3 separate regions of the Homo sapiens genome follow, and all the other regions are linked to region 2. Evidence: promoter capture Hi-C in human tissues and cell types (Jung and others, 2019). All regions are on one chromosome and are shown on one strand. Each heading gives the region's core, a stretch centred on a gene start or on the middle of the fragment in contact. The rest is flanking DNA. Distances are from core to core; before and after follow the strand shown. Region 1 holds the start of KCTD5 (potassium channel tetramerization domain containing 5). Region 2 holds the start of NTHL1 (nth like DNA glycosylase 1). Region 3 holds the start of FLYWCH1 (FLYWCH-type zinc finger 1).

Region 1 (3,850 bases), core at 1,010-3,509, 630 kb before region 2:
TTTATTTTTTTTTTTTTGTGATGGAGTCTTGCTCTTTCACCCAGGCTGGACTGCAGTGGCGCTAACTAGGCTCACTGCAAGCTCCTCCTCCCAGGCTCACGCCATTCTCCTGCCTCAGACTGCCTAGTAGCTGGGACTACAGGTGCTCGCCACCGCGCCTGGCTCATTTTTTGTATTTTTAGTAGAGACAGAGTTTCATCATGTTAGCCAGGATGGTCTCGATCTCCTGACCTCGTGATCCGCCTGCCTCGGCCTCCCAAAGTGCTGGGATTACAGACGTGAGCCACCGCGCCCACCTTTTTGTATTTTTAGTAGAGACCGGGCATCACCATATTGGCCCGGTTGGTTTTGAACGAGATCCACCTGCCTGGGCCTCCCAAAGTGTTGGGATTACAGGCATGAGCCACCGCGCCTGGCCCATAATTTTTAACAAAGTCTTAAGGAACAGTAAAGCAAAGGGATCAACCACCTTAACTGTGCTAAAGTTCATCAACTGGGAATCAAGTGCTCCAGTGCTGAATAGACAACCATTGCCTCAAAGAACCCAATGGACAAGAGCAATTTAAACTCTAATTTCATATACAAAACAGGAATGCTTGAGTAGAAAGGCAAGGGAGTGACCACTAAGCCCTGTTATTTAAAAAGAAAAACCAAACAGTAAAACATACACCCACACTTATAAAAGGAAAATCACAGCTAACAAACGCCTATTTCTATCCTGGGGATGACTGTCATTTCCTGGGAGGTCAATTCTCTGAGTAGAGGGCTTGGTCAAATGAGCAATGGAAACAGTTGGAAGTTGTGGGGAGGCACAGGAGGGTTGGCATCTCAAACCCTCATTTCCACCCACAAGGCTGCCTTAGCAGTAACTCCAGATTCTCACTTCCTGATCACGGTCATGCCATGCTGAGAATGGTCTCAGTCAGGCTTCTCAAACTTGAAGAGGGATCCGAACCTTTCTGGGAAGCCTCCTGCATGGCAAATGTTGGCTGCCAAGGCACAAAGCCAAGCGCAGTCATGTAAGCTCAACTGAAAGACCCCGCAAAGTTAGTATAAGGCTTGTGAACTGCCTTGAATAAATATAGGTAACAACTTCTTCAAACAGGCTTTTTTGTGAGTTTCAATCCTGCACAACTCCCAAGACACGGTTCCTCGGCTCCACAACTCTTGATAAATAAAGGTAGCAAAAGGTTTCTATTACCATCTACCCAACAGCATGAGCATTTCGCTTGATGAAAGACAAGCTGCAAACTAACCTGGAAATTCCTGTCCTTTTGCGAAGACAGTGGGAAAACTAAGCCAATTAGAAAGCAGATTGAAAGATTCCTTACCTGACCCTTCCTGGACATCCCTAAAGCAACCCTTAATATGAGCAAAATCCCCTTCGAAAAATCATACTATATACTACGGACGCATCTTCTAAGAGGTGCTGAGTGGGTGCTGCGTGCTGTGGATGGAAAGGATGGAGCGCCAACTCTCTAAATGCAAGTCACCAGGGAAAAAAAGGGCCGCCCATATCAACCCCCACGTCAGCGTTAATTCAAACGTCCAGAATGTGAAACAACGCCAAGGGTTCTGTTTCCAGAGCCAGCAAGTACCCTGGGACAGAGAAGAGAAGGCGTTCACACACCCTGGGCAAAAGAACCTAGTGAGAAAAAGAAAGTAGAATCACAGCAAAGTCCGGGGTCTAGGAAGCCTCCTCCACCAAAGAGCAAAGAGGGCGAGGAAGAGACACCCCCAAGGTGAATCGACTCAGGATCCTCAAAGGCAGTGGACGCCAGGGCGCCATCCTCACCCTCCCCTCCCAGGGTAGGGGATCGGGGCAAGCTGGGGAGGAGCTGGCGACAAGGGAGCGCGGGGCTCGAAGCCCGAGGAGAGTCGCCCGCTCCCGCTGAAGTCTCCTCCGCACGAAGCAGGGCGTGTGCAGGAGCCGCAGGCCGGGAAGGCCAGGACCCTCCGGGCTGGCCCGTGAGGCCCTCACCTTGTCTGAGTCCAGGTCGGGATCGGCCTGGCATAAGCGGTACAGGAAGGATTTCGGGTCCCGGCACAGGGTCTGCCGAGTGGTGAGGAAGTAGGTGCCGCCGACGTTGAGTCGGACCCACTTGGACACGCTGCCAGGGCGCTGGGCCAGGGCGCCGAGCCCAGCGCTGCAGCGGCGGCACAGGCCGCCCCCCAGCCCCGCCCCGATGCCGCCCCGGGCCGGCGACAGGAGCTCGCAGTGATTCTCCGCCATGATCCCAGCAAGCCCCGCAACAGCTCCCTTCCACCGGAAGCGTCCGGCTTTTAATAGCGTCCTCTGAGTTCTGTCCCGCCCACAGGTCCGCCCTGGTAGAGCGCCCGCCCCGGCGTCACGCGGTAGGCGGAAGTTCCGGTCCCGAAAAGCAGGAGGCTGGGCCCGCTTCCGGCGGGAGCGGAGCACGGGGTGATCTGGGCACTAACGCTGATGGGGAGCAGCGGACATCAGCCTCGACCTCCCACGAGCGGTGCACGAGCGCCTGACCCAGACCTCGACCCTAGCCTTCACCCCCACCCTGACTCCAGTTCATGAACTGGTCAAAGGAAGAGCCATGCCAGCAAACGTCTACACTGTACATGCTTTTTATTACAAGACTACGGAGCATAGGAGGAAAATTCATCATCTGGTAACTACACCTAAAGCACAAATATTTGGGGGGAAAAAAAGAACAGATTCATTAAATTATATGATTAAATCATTGACCCAATAGAAAATTTATATAATAAGGGCGGGGCCTGGTGGCTCACGCCTGTAATCCCAGCACTTTGGGAGGCCGAGGCGGGAGGATCAGGCGGTCAGGAGATCGAGACCACGCTGGCCAACATGGTGAGGCCCGGTCTCCACTGAAAATACAAAAATTAGCCTGGCGCGGTGGTGGGCGCCGGTAATCCAAGCTACTCGGGAGGCTGCGGCAGGAGAATGGCGTGAACCCGGGAGGCAGAGGTTGCAGTGAGCTGAGATCTCGCCACTGCACTCCAGCCTGGTGATAGGGCGAGAGTCTGTCTCAAAAAAAAAAAAAGAAAGTTTTTGTAATAAAGCCAGAAAAAAGTTGTAAAATATATAGTAATTATTCACATTCAAGGCTGTATATCAATACATATAACAACGTGGCCCCGAACATGAATTCAATACAAATAATTCATATATTAGAATTTAGGCCGGGCGCGGTGGCTCATGTCTGTAATCCCAACACTTTGGGAGGCCAAGGTGGGTGGATCACGAGGTCAGGAGTTCAACATCAGCCTGGCCAAGATGGTGAATCTCCGTCTCTACCAAAAATACAAAAAATTAGCCAGATGTGGTTGTGGGCGCTCGTAATCCCAGCTACTCGGAGGCTGAGGCAGAGAATTGCTTAAACCCAGGAGGCGGAGGTTGCAGTTAGCCGAGATCAGGCCACTGCACTCTAGCCTGGGCGACAGAGTGAGACTCCGTCTCAAGAAAAAAAAAGAATTTAAATAACAGGCTGAACTAGAGGCCAACAATAGCCAGCAAATAACCTTCTATAAGATTAAAAACACAAAAGTGTATATCCTAATACCATTGTATTATTTGTTTTCATGAGTTCTTTTAATTTTTGCTTTGTCTGTACATCACAGTTACAGCTACAGACCAGGTAGAGAATATTACGCATGTTCTGACTGCCACCCACCTGAAAGACGTACTAGTCATTTATCCTATTTCATGTTGTGAAGGAACAGCTACAGCAGCTCTAAATACTGTAACAATTTAATTTTGCCAACATCCAACTTAACAGTCGTAATAGAGGCTTTTACCAGCACAATGACCCCTATTCGTAGTCATTCTGCCAGACGGTTAGGCTATGTGGGTTACACA
Region 2 (3,857 bases), core at 903-3,402:
GAAACTCGGTCTCAAAAAAAAAAAAAAAAAAAGATTTACTGAGGGGCTTTACTGCTCCATCCCGAGGAGTTGAGAATGTGCAATTTTTTTTCACAACTGCAAATGTTGTATTGAGATAAAACATAACATGAAATACAATTTCAAACTGCACAATTTTTTTTTAGACGGAGTTTTGCTCTTCTTCCCCAGGATGGAGTGCAGTGGCGCGATCACGGCTCACTGAAACCTCCGCCTCCCGGGTTCAAGCAATTCTCGTCTCAGCCCCCCGAGTAGCTGGAATTACAGGCGCCCACCACTATGACCGGCTAATTTTTGGTATTTTTAGTAGAGACGGGGTTTCGCCATGTTGGCCAGGCTGGTCTCAAACTCCTGACCTCAGGTGATCCACCCGCCTCGGCCTCCCAAAGTGCTGGGATGACAGGCGTGAGCCACCGCACCCAGCCAGGATGGACTATATTTTATTCATCAGTTGATGAACGTTTTAGTTGTTTCTAAGTAGAAAACTTTACAAGTGCAAAAATTCAGCATTTACTCATGGGCAAAACACAATGCCAGGCATGTGTGACAAAGACACAAACACACATAAAAGATAACGACCTAGCCCATGTGCGATGGCTCATGCCTGTAATCCCAGCACTTTGGGAGGCCAAAGCGGGCAGATCACCTGAGGTCAGCAGTTCAAGACCAGCCTGGCCAAGATAGTGAAACTCCATCTCTACTAAAAATACAAAAATTAAATGGGTGTGGTGGCACGTGTCTGTAGTCCCAGCTACTCAGGAGGCTGAGGCAGGAGAACCACTTGAAACTGGGAGGCAGAGGTAGCAGCGAGCAGAGATTGTGCCACTGCACTCCAGCCTAGGCAACAGAGCAAGACTCAGTCTCAAAAAAAAAATAAAATAAAGAACCTACTTCTCCCAGGAACTCACATCTTATCATGTAACACCTGGACATATCCTTACCTGTGAAGATGATGATACTCAGGCCTCATCTATAAGATGGGCTTTCTTTCATCAACATCTGAATAGTAACTCAAGTGTGCCTGAACCAGGTCACCAAGATCCTGACTTTCGAAGTCTCCTGAGGAAGGACATGTCGGCCTCCAAGTACTGGAGACAGCATTCCTGTGTAGACAGTTGCCAGCAACCCGTCTCCCACAGAACCTGGTGCAAGACCAAACCCAGCCTTCTCTGCATTTCCCTCTAGCCTAGCAAAGACACAGGTAGCTCACTCACTCTCAGTATTTCCGCGGTGATGATAAACTCCGTCTGTTTACCCTCTGCAGACCTGGGATTTGGCCTCGGTGTTCCCAGTCCCAACAGAATCTTAAACTTCTCCTTCAAGCCTGAATCTTTGCTTGTTGGTTTGGCCATGGTGGACCAGGACGCACCAGAAAACCCCTCTGTGCAAACGAAACAGGAATGGGGACATCTGAGCAACACCTCTGCCCACCTTCCCCACTGCGGACCTCCAGCCGTCAGGACCCTGGGTCTCTGGTGGGCATAACCTTTCCTCCCACACTCCCTGGGAGAACTCAACTACAGCCCAGCTGACCAGCTCGCAAACAGGCACCTAGGAAAGCCCGGGAGACACCAGGCCTGGTCTAGAGAGCTCTCTACTCAGACGCTGCCGCCCGCCCCGCCCGACTCAGTGCACGGGTTAGGACTGCCGCCGCGAAGTCCTGGGAGCCCCGACGTTTGCCGTCTCTCCTCTACCCATGTGAAGCAGGAGCTGTCACGGAGCCGCCTGCAGCAGAGACCCGTTCGCACCCGCCATGACTTAAAACTAAGGGATGCTCGGAGCTCCGGAGTCGGGTTGCAGTGGGCGCGGGTGAGGGCCCGGGACCCGGACACTGCGGGGTCCGCCTCTCTAGGCCGCTGCCCCGTGGGGACCGCCACTTGCCCCGTGGGGACCGCCACTTACCCCGCGCCGCGCCACCGCGCTCCGGGCCGCCCCGACGCGGAGAAAGGCGCACCCCCCTGGCCCCGGGACGCCGCCGGAAGCGCGACCCGCACTTCCGGTAGCGGCATTGCGCGGAGGGCCGCCTTGGGAGCTTGCTGGGAGTTGTAGTTCTGTGCCGCCCTCTGGCGGAAAGGCCGGCGATCCTTGCATCACGTGACGGGGCCGCATGGGCCGCCGGGATGTGTAGTCCGCAGGAGTCCGGCATGACCGCCTTGAGCGCGAGGATGCTGACCCGGAGCCGGAGCCTGGGACCCGGGGCTGGGCCGCGGGGGTGTAGGGAGGAGCCCGGGCCTCTCCGGAGAAGAGAGGCTGCAGCAGGTAGCGCCGCGCCGTGGCTGGAGCGTGGGAGGAGGCGGGATAGGGGCTGCAGGCTGGAGTCCCGGGCCGCCTCCTGCGGCTCCCAGCTGCGCGGGCAGGGGCTGCAAACCCGGCAGCCGCGAACGGTTCCCACGTGCGGCCCTGCGTTCCCACCTTGCGCCTTTTTCCCAAAGATTGCGGTCCGCAGGGGCTGGGTTTCGGGCGCTCCGCTCCGCTGCCCCCTTTCGCCCCAAGCAAGAAAACGCTTCCTTTCCCACCACTCTGTCCGGGACTCTCCACTCCAGGCTCTGTGGGTCCCATCCCCGCCCTCCTGCAGTGAACTTGCTGTCCTCGGAGAGGCTGGGTGCCAAGGACACACGCAGCCAGAAGCCTGCTCCCCCAGCTCGGGGGAGGGTGCCTCTGAGGGAAAACAGGAAAGGGCATGGCACTTATTATATTTATCCTGCAGCCGTTGAGGACCTGCTGGGGGCCAAGCACTGCAGTGAGCAGTGAGGGACACGGACAGGGCCTCTGCGCTAGTCCCGCTGGGACTTCTGCAGAATTGGCCAGAGCTGGATTCCCATAGGCACCCAGGGACCCCAGGGGTAGTCCAGACTATGTCAGGAGGAACTGGTGCAGCTGGGAGCAGGCAGGTGGTGATGCCAGCCAGGGTGGCAGGAGCTTTGATGCCAGGATAGAGTTTGGAGTTTATTATGACAGTAAACGGAAGTCAATTAGGAGGTTTTGTTGTTTGTTTTGAGATCGGGTCTTGCTCTGTCACCCAGGCTGTAGTGGAGTGTTGTGATCTCAGCTCACTGCAACCTCCGCCCCCCAGGTTCAAGCAGTTCTCCTGCCTCAGCCTCCCAAGTAGCTGAGACTATAGGCCCCTGCCACCACACCCGGCTAACTTTTGTATTTTTAGTAGAGATGGGGTTTTGCCATATTGGCCAGGCTGGTCTTGAACTCCTGACCTCAAGTGATCCACCCACCTCGGCCTCCCAAAGTGCTGGGATTACAGGCTTGATCCACCGCGCCCGGCCGGCCAGGATTTTTTAAAAGGGAGTGACACAACCTGATGTGGGTGTTAGCAGACTGTCTCTGGTGCAGTATAGAAGATGTATTGGGGGCACCTTGGTACAGGCTGTTGCTAGAGTCCTCATGAGCTAACATGGACCTTGTCAGGGTCGCTGGCATAAGGAGGGCCCACATACCCCAGACTGCAGAGGGCAGAGCACCCCAAGTGTATTAGATGATGGACAGTTGTGGCATGAACGAGTGAGGGGTGAGCTAGCAGGCGGGATGGCACCCCTACCCTACCTTCACCTGTGGCCCCACCAGAGGGACTGCGTGGTGCTTTTTGCAGAAGCGAGGAAAAGCCACAGCCCCGTGAAGCGTCCGCGGAAAGCACAGAGACTGCGTGTGGCCTATGAGGGCTCGGACAGTGAGAAAGGTGAGGGGGCTGAGCCCCTCAAGGTGCCAGTCTGGGAGCCCCAGGACTGGCAGCAACAGCTGGTCAACATCCGTGCCATGAGGAACAAAAAGGATGCACCTGTGGACCATCTGGGGACTGAGCACTGCTATGACTCCAGTGCCCCCCCAAA
Region 3 (4,067 bases), core at 827-3,326, 860 kb before region 2:
GTGGCACGGTGGCTCACACCTGTCATCTCAGCAGTTTGGGAGGCTCAGGTGAGAGAATTGTTTGAGCCCAGGAGTTCGAGACCAGCCTAGGCAACATAGTGAGACCTGCCCCTCGCCCCCACCATTTCTACTAAAAAAATTTTTTTTTAAAGCTCCTGGATGACTCCAGTGTCTACCCACCTCCCACCTACCCGCAACTGAACCATGAGCGTTGGAGGTGCACTTGCCTCAGACATGAACCACTATGGTGACATCACAGGCTCAGTGGGTGCACACAGACATTCCTCCTGAAGAGGTTGAAGGTGGCAGAGATGCCCAGATAATTAAAATTTACTCTAAAAATGAACTTCACAATCTCAGCACCGTTGGCATTTTGGGCCGGATGATTCTGCTGTGGGAGGCTGTCCTGTTCAGCGTGGGGTGTTCAGCAGCAACCCCGGTCTCTACCTGCCAGATCCCACTGTCATGCCCTACCACACGTTGTGACCACCAACACTGCAGAACGTTCCCTGGGGTGCAGAATTGCCCAAGAGCCACAGCTCCAAAGCAACTTAGAAATTAGAGCGCACAGAAAGGGAGAGCTTGGCCAATGAGACCCCCCCAGCCCGGTATTCCCCAGTCACCCTCCATCATAATATAAGTTTATTTACTCCTTCCCACAGCCTAATGCATCCTCAAATCTCTCTCCCTCTATGCCTGATATACCCATCTTCCCTCTCCTTCCCACTCCCACCAACTCAGGACATGATCCCTTACCACGACCTCTTTAGCCCAAGCCAAAGCCTCTGAACGATCTTGCCAGCTTTGGCAAGCAGCCACTCCAATTCTCCACATAGGGTGCTGACAGGTCACTCTTCCTAAAGCTTAACTTTCAGCATGTCTCTCCCCAATTAAATCATCTCCATCTCCAGCCTTAGTGCATCATCAGCTGGGCGTCATAAACACTCCGCAATCTAGCCCCAACCTCAGCCTTGTTCCTTCCACACGTCCCGCCAGTAGCACTTGGGAAAGGAACAAGAGAAACATGATATAATCACACGAGAAAATCTAGATCAAGCCCTGGAAATCATATTGGCCCTTGGAAAGCAGAAATATGCAAATAAAAATAAGCCATTTCGTTGGAATTGGAGTTTGCACATGATTATCTGACTATGGGAGTTCAGCTTCCAGTACAAGGAATAAAGGAACAACAGGCAGGGTTTAGAGCGAGGGTTTCAACTACGTCAGACCCGTTATGTGCAGGCTCCATGGGTTAGCAGCAGCCTTTTGGAACGGGGTGGAAGAGAATGGAACGGAATTTAATCCGAACAGATCCAGCTGCGTCATGTGAGCTTAAACAAGCGTCTCCCTTTAAACTTGTGCTTCAGTCATCCAGACCCACAGGCACAGAGTACACGCGTAAAAGGCATTTCTCAGTGTCGGCTGTGGGTCAACAAAGTTCGAAAGCCGTCACCGGAGATCTATAGGGTCAGAAGCGGGAGCGGGGTGCGTCCCGACCCGCAAAAGTGCAAGGTCACTGGGACCGCCCGAGCTGCAACCGTGGGACGGGGCTGATGCTGCGGGTCCAGGAAGGCAGCGCTGGGCGGGGCAGACACCGCCAGGAAACGGCGGACGAGTGCGGGGATCCTTGATGTGGGGGTGTCGGGCTTAGGCCAGGGGACGGGGGGGTGGGGATGGAGGGGCGAGGAGCAAGGAGGGAATCGCGGGAGACCCCACAGGAGGCGGCCTGAGCGCCGGGACGCAGACCCCTCCCCAGCACCCGCAACCCTCGGGACCCCCGGGAGAGCCGGGCTGCGGGCGCGTCCACGCCGGGGACGCGGGACATTCCCCGCCCGCAGGGGCCTGTCCTCACCGACGGCAGCGGGGCCCTCCCTCTCCCGCGACAGCGCCGCGGCGGATCCTTCAGCCTCTGCCGCTGCAGCAGCGAGCGTCGACCCCGCGACCCAGGCCGCCGCCGCCACCCCGACCCGGGCACCAGCTCCCAGCCCCGACCTGCCCCTCGGGAGCGAGCCCCGTGACCGCGCGCGCGACCCCGCCGGGGAGCCGGCCTTGCGGAACGCTCAGGCGCGCTACTTCAGAGCATGCGCAGCAAGACCGCGCGGCCCGTTCCTTAGGTAAACCGCTGCTCCGGGTCTTCCCTGCGCGGCGCCGAGCCGCAGGCCTGGCCTGTCAGCGCATGGGGGCGGGGACGTAACTCACGGAAAAGGCGGGGCCATCCCGAGATTGGACGGCGGCGTCCAGGGGCGGAGCTAGGATGGGGGAGCTGAACAGGACGCTCTTGGCGTAAAGGGGCTGGGGTAGGGGGCGCTTAATTGAGACCCCAGGACGGTCCCCAGTATCTGAGGCTGCCCGCAGGAAACGGAGCGTTTGCTGAGATGCACTCTTGGGCCTGTCAGTTTCCTGACCCCGTGGGAAGGCGATTCTCATGCATCTCATTGACGCCCCCAGTGACCCTACCCCAGAGCGGAACCAGTGTGAGATTCAAATAAACAGCGATAGCAACGGATTATAACCTTGACTACGATATGAGTCCAAACTGAAGGAAATAAGTCAACGGGGGAGAAGGGACAGTTGTTTCTTACATCAGAAAGCCAACAACGACAAAAAAATACCTGGGCCGGGCGCGGTGGCTCACGCCTGTAATCCCAGCACTTTGGGAGGCCGAGGCGGGTGGATCACCTGAGGTCAGGAGTTCGAGAACAGCGTGGCCAACATGGTGAAACCCCGTTTCTACTAAAAATACGAACATTAGTCGGGCGTGGTACTGGGCGCCTGTAATCCCAGCTACTCGGGAGGCTGAGGCAGGAGAATAACTTGAACCCGGGAGGCGGAGGTTGCAGTGAGCCGAGACGGCGCCACTGCACTCCAGCCTGGGCGACAGAGTGAGACTGTGTCTAAAAAAAAAAAAGCAGAAATATTACATAGTATTACAAAGTCTGCATGACGTGTGATGTAACACATTGAATGTAGAAGCAGGTATGAGAGCCAGTAGTCTTCTTTTAAGCCCGCAACAAAGATATTTGCAAAAATGTATAACTATGTCACTCGTCTCACTAAATTTCTTTGGGAAAATATTGTACTTTTTCATAAAACTATGTTAACACAATCAGCTTACTATTTTTTGGTAAGATCTTTATTGAAATATAATTCACATACCATGCATTTCTCCCATTTAAAGTGTACAATTAAATGATATGTAGTATAGTCAGAGAGTTGTGCAAACAGCACCATAGTCAGTTTTAAAACCTTTCATCACTCCAAGAAGAAACCTTTAGCCACCACCCTCCAATTTGCTAATCACCCCAGCCCTAAGTAATATGATCTATTTTCTGTCTTTATAGATTTGCGTATTCTGCATATTTCATATAAATGAAATCATGCAACAAATATGTGGTCTCTTGTGACTGACTTCTTTCGCCTAGCCTTAGCATAGCACTTTCAAAGTTCATCCATGTTGGCCGGGTACAGTGACTCTTGCTTGTAATCCCAGCACTTTGGGAGGCTGAGACAGGAGCATCGTTTGAGCCCAGGAGTTTGAGATCAGCCTAGGCAACATAGTGAGACTCTTTCTCTACAGAAAAAAAGAAAAGAGGAACAAGAGAAAATTAGCTGGATGTGGTGATGCGCTGTAGTCCCAGCTACTCAGGAGGCTGAGGTGGAAGGATCACTTGAGCTTGGGAGCTGGAGGCTGCAGTGAGCTGCGCTCATGCCACTGCACTCCAGGCTGGGCGACAGAGCAAGACCCTGTTCAAAAATAAAATAGTAGCAGAACTTAATTACTTTTTTTTTTTCTTGAGATGGAGTCTTGCTCTGTCGCCCAGGCTGGAGTGCAGTGGCACGACCTCAGCTCACTGCAACCTCCATCTCCCGGGTTCAAGTGATTCTCCTGCCTCAGCCTCCTGAGCAGCTGGGATTGGGATTATTACAGACAGTTGCCACCACGCCCGGCTTTTTTTTTTTTTTTTTCTTTTTTGAGACGGAGTCTCGCTCTGTCGCCCAGGCTGGAGTGCAGTGGCGCCATCTCGGCTCACTGCAAGCTCCGCCTTTCGGGTTCACGCCATTCTCCT

Evidence for each region. The method cuts DNA at HindIII sites, captures the fragments that hold promoters and counts their contacts. A contact is called where the count stands out against the background at its distance.
Region 1: the fragment with the promoter of KCTD5 here is called in contact with the fragment with the promoter of NTHL1 in region 2 in 1 of the 25 tissues and cell types used here (spleen).
Region 3: a contact is called between the fragment with the promoter of FLYWCH1 here and the fragment with the promoter of NTHL1 in region 2, in 1 of the 25 tissues and cell types used here (lymphoblastoid cells).

The regions. Positions count from the first base shown.
Region 1 is chr16:2,680,932-2,684,781 of GRCh38, reverse strand. It overlaps KCTD5 (potassium channel tetramerization domain containing 5), which reads right to left and starts at 2,259. Exons shown (of 6, transcript NM_018992.4): 1 at 1,982-2,259. The coding sequence starts at 2,233. RefSeq lists enhancers at 1,577-1,626, 1,697-1,746, 1,291-1,901 and a silencer at 1,997-2,176. The HindIII fragment of the contact is 14,940 bases long and covers 1-3,850 here.
Region 2 is chr16:2,046,129-2,049,985 of GRCh38, reverse strand. It overlaps NTHL1 (nth like DNA glycosylase 1), which reads left to right and starts at 2,152. Exons shown (of 6, transcript NM_002528.7): 1 at 2,152-2,277; 2 at 3,620-3,857. The coding sequence starts at 2,163. TSC2 (TSC complex subunit 2) reads right to left here and starts at 2,001. Exons shown (of 42, transcript NM_000548.5): 1 at 1,921-2,001; 2 at 1,233-1,399. The coding sequence starts at 1,370. RefSeq lists a silencer at 1,738-1,967 and enhancers at 2,058-2,147, 2,598-2,657, 2,249-2,748. The HindIII fragment of the contact is 27,107 bases long and covers 1-3,857 here.
Region 3 is chr16:2,909,940-2,914,006 of GRCh38, reverse strand. FLYWCH1 (FLYWCH-type zinc finger 1) reads right to left here and starts at 2,076. Exons shown (of 10, transcript NM_001308068.2): 1 at 1,853-2,076. RefSeq lists silencers at 1,443-1,632, 1,606-1,705, 1,736-1,885, 1,906-2,215, 2,266-2,325. The HindIII fragment of the contact is 21,473 bases long and covers 425-4,067 here.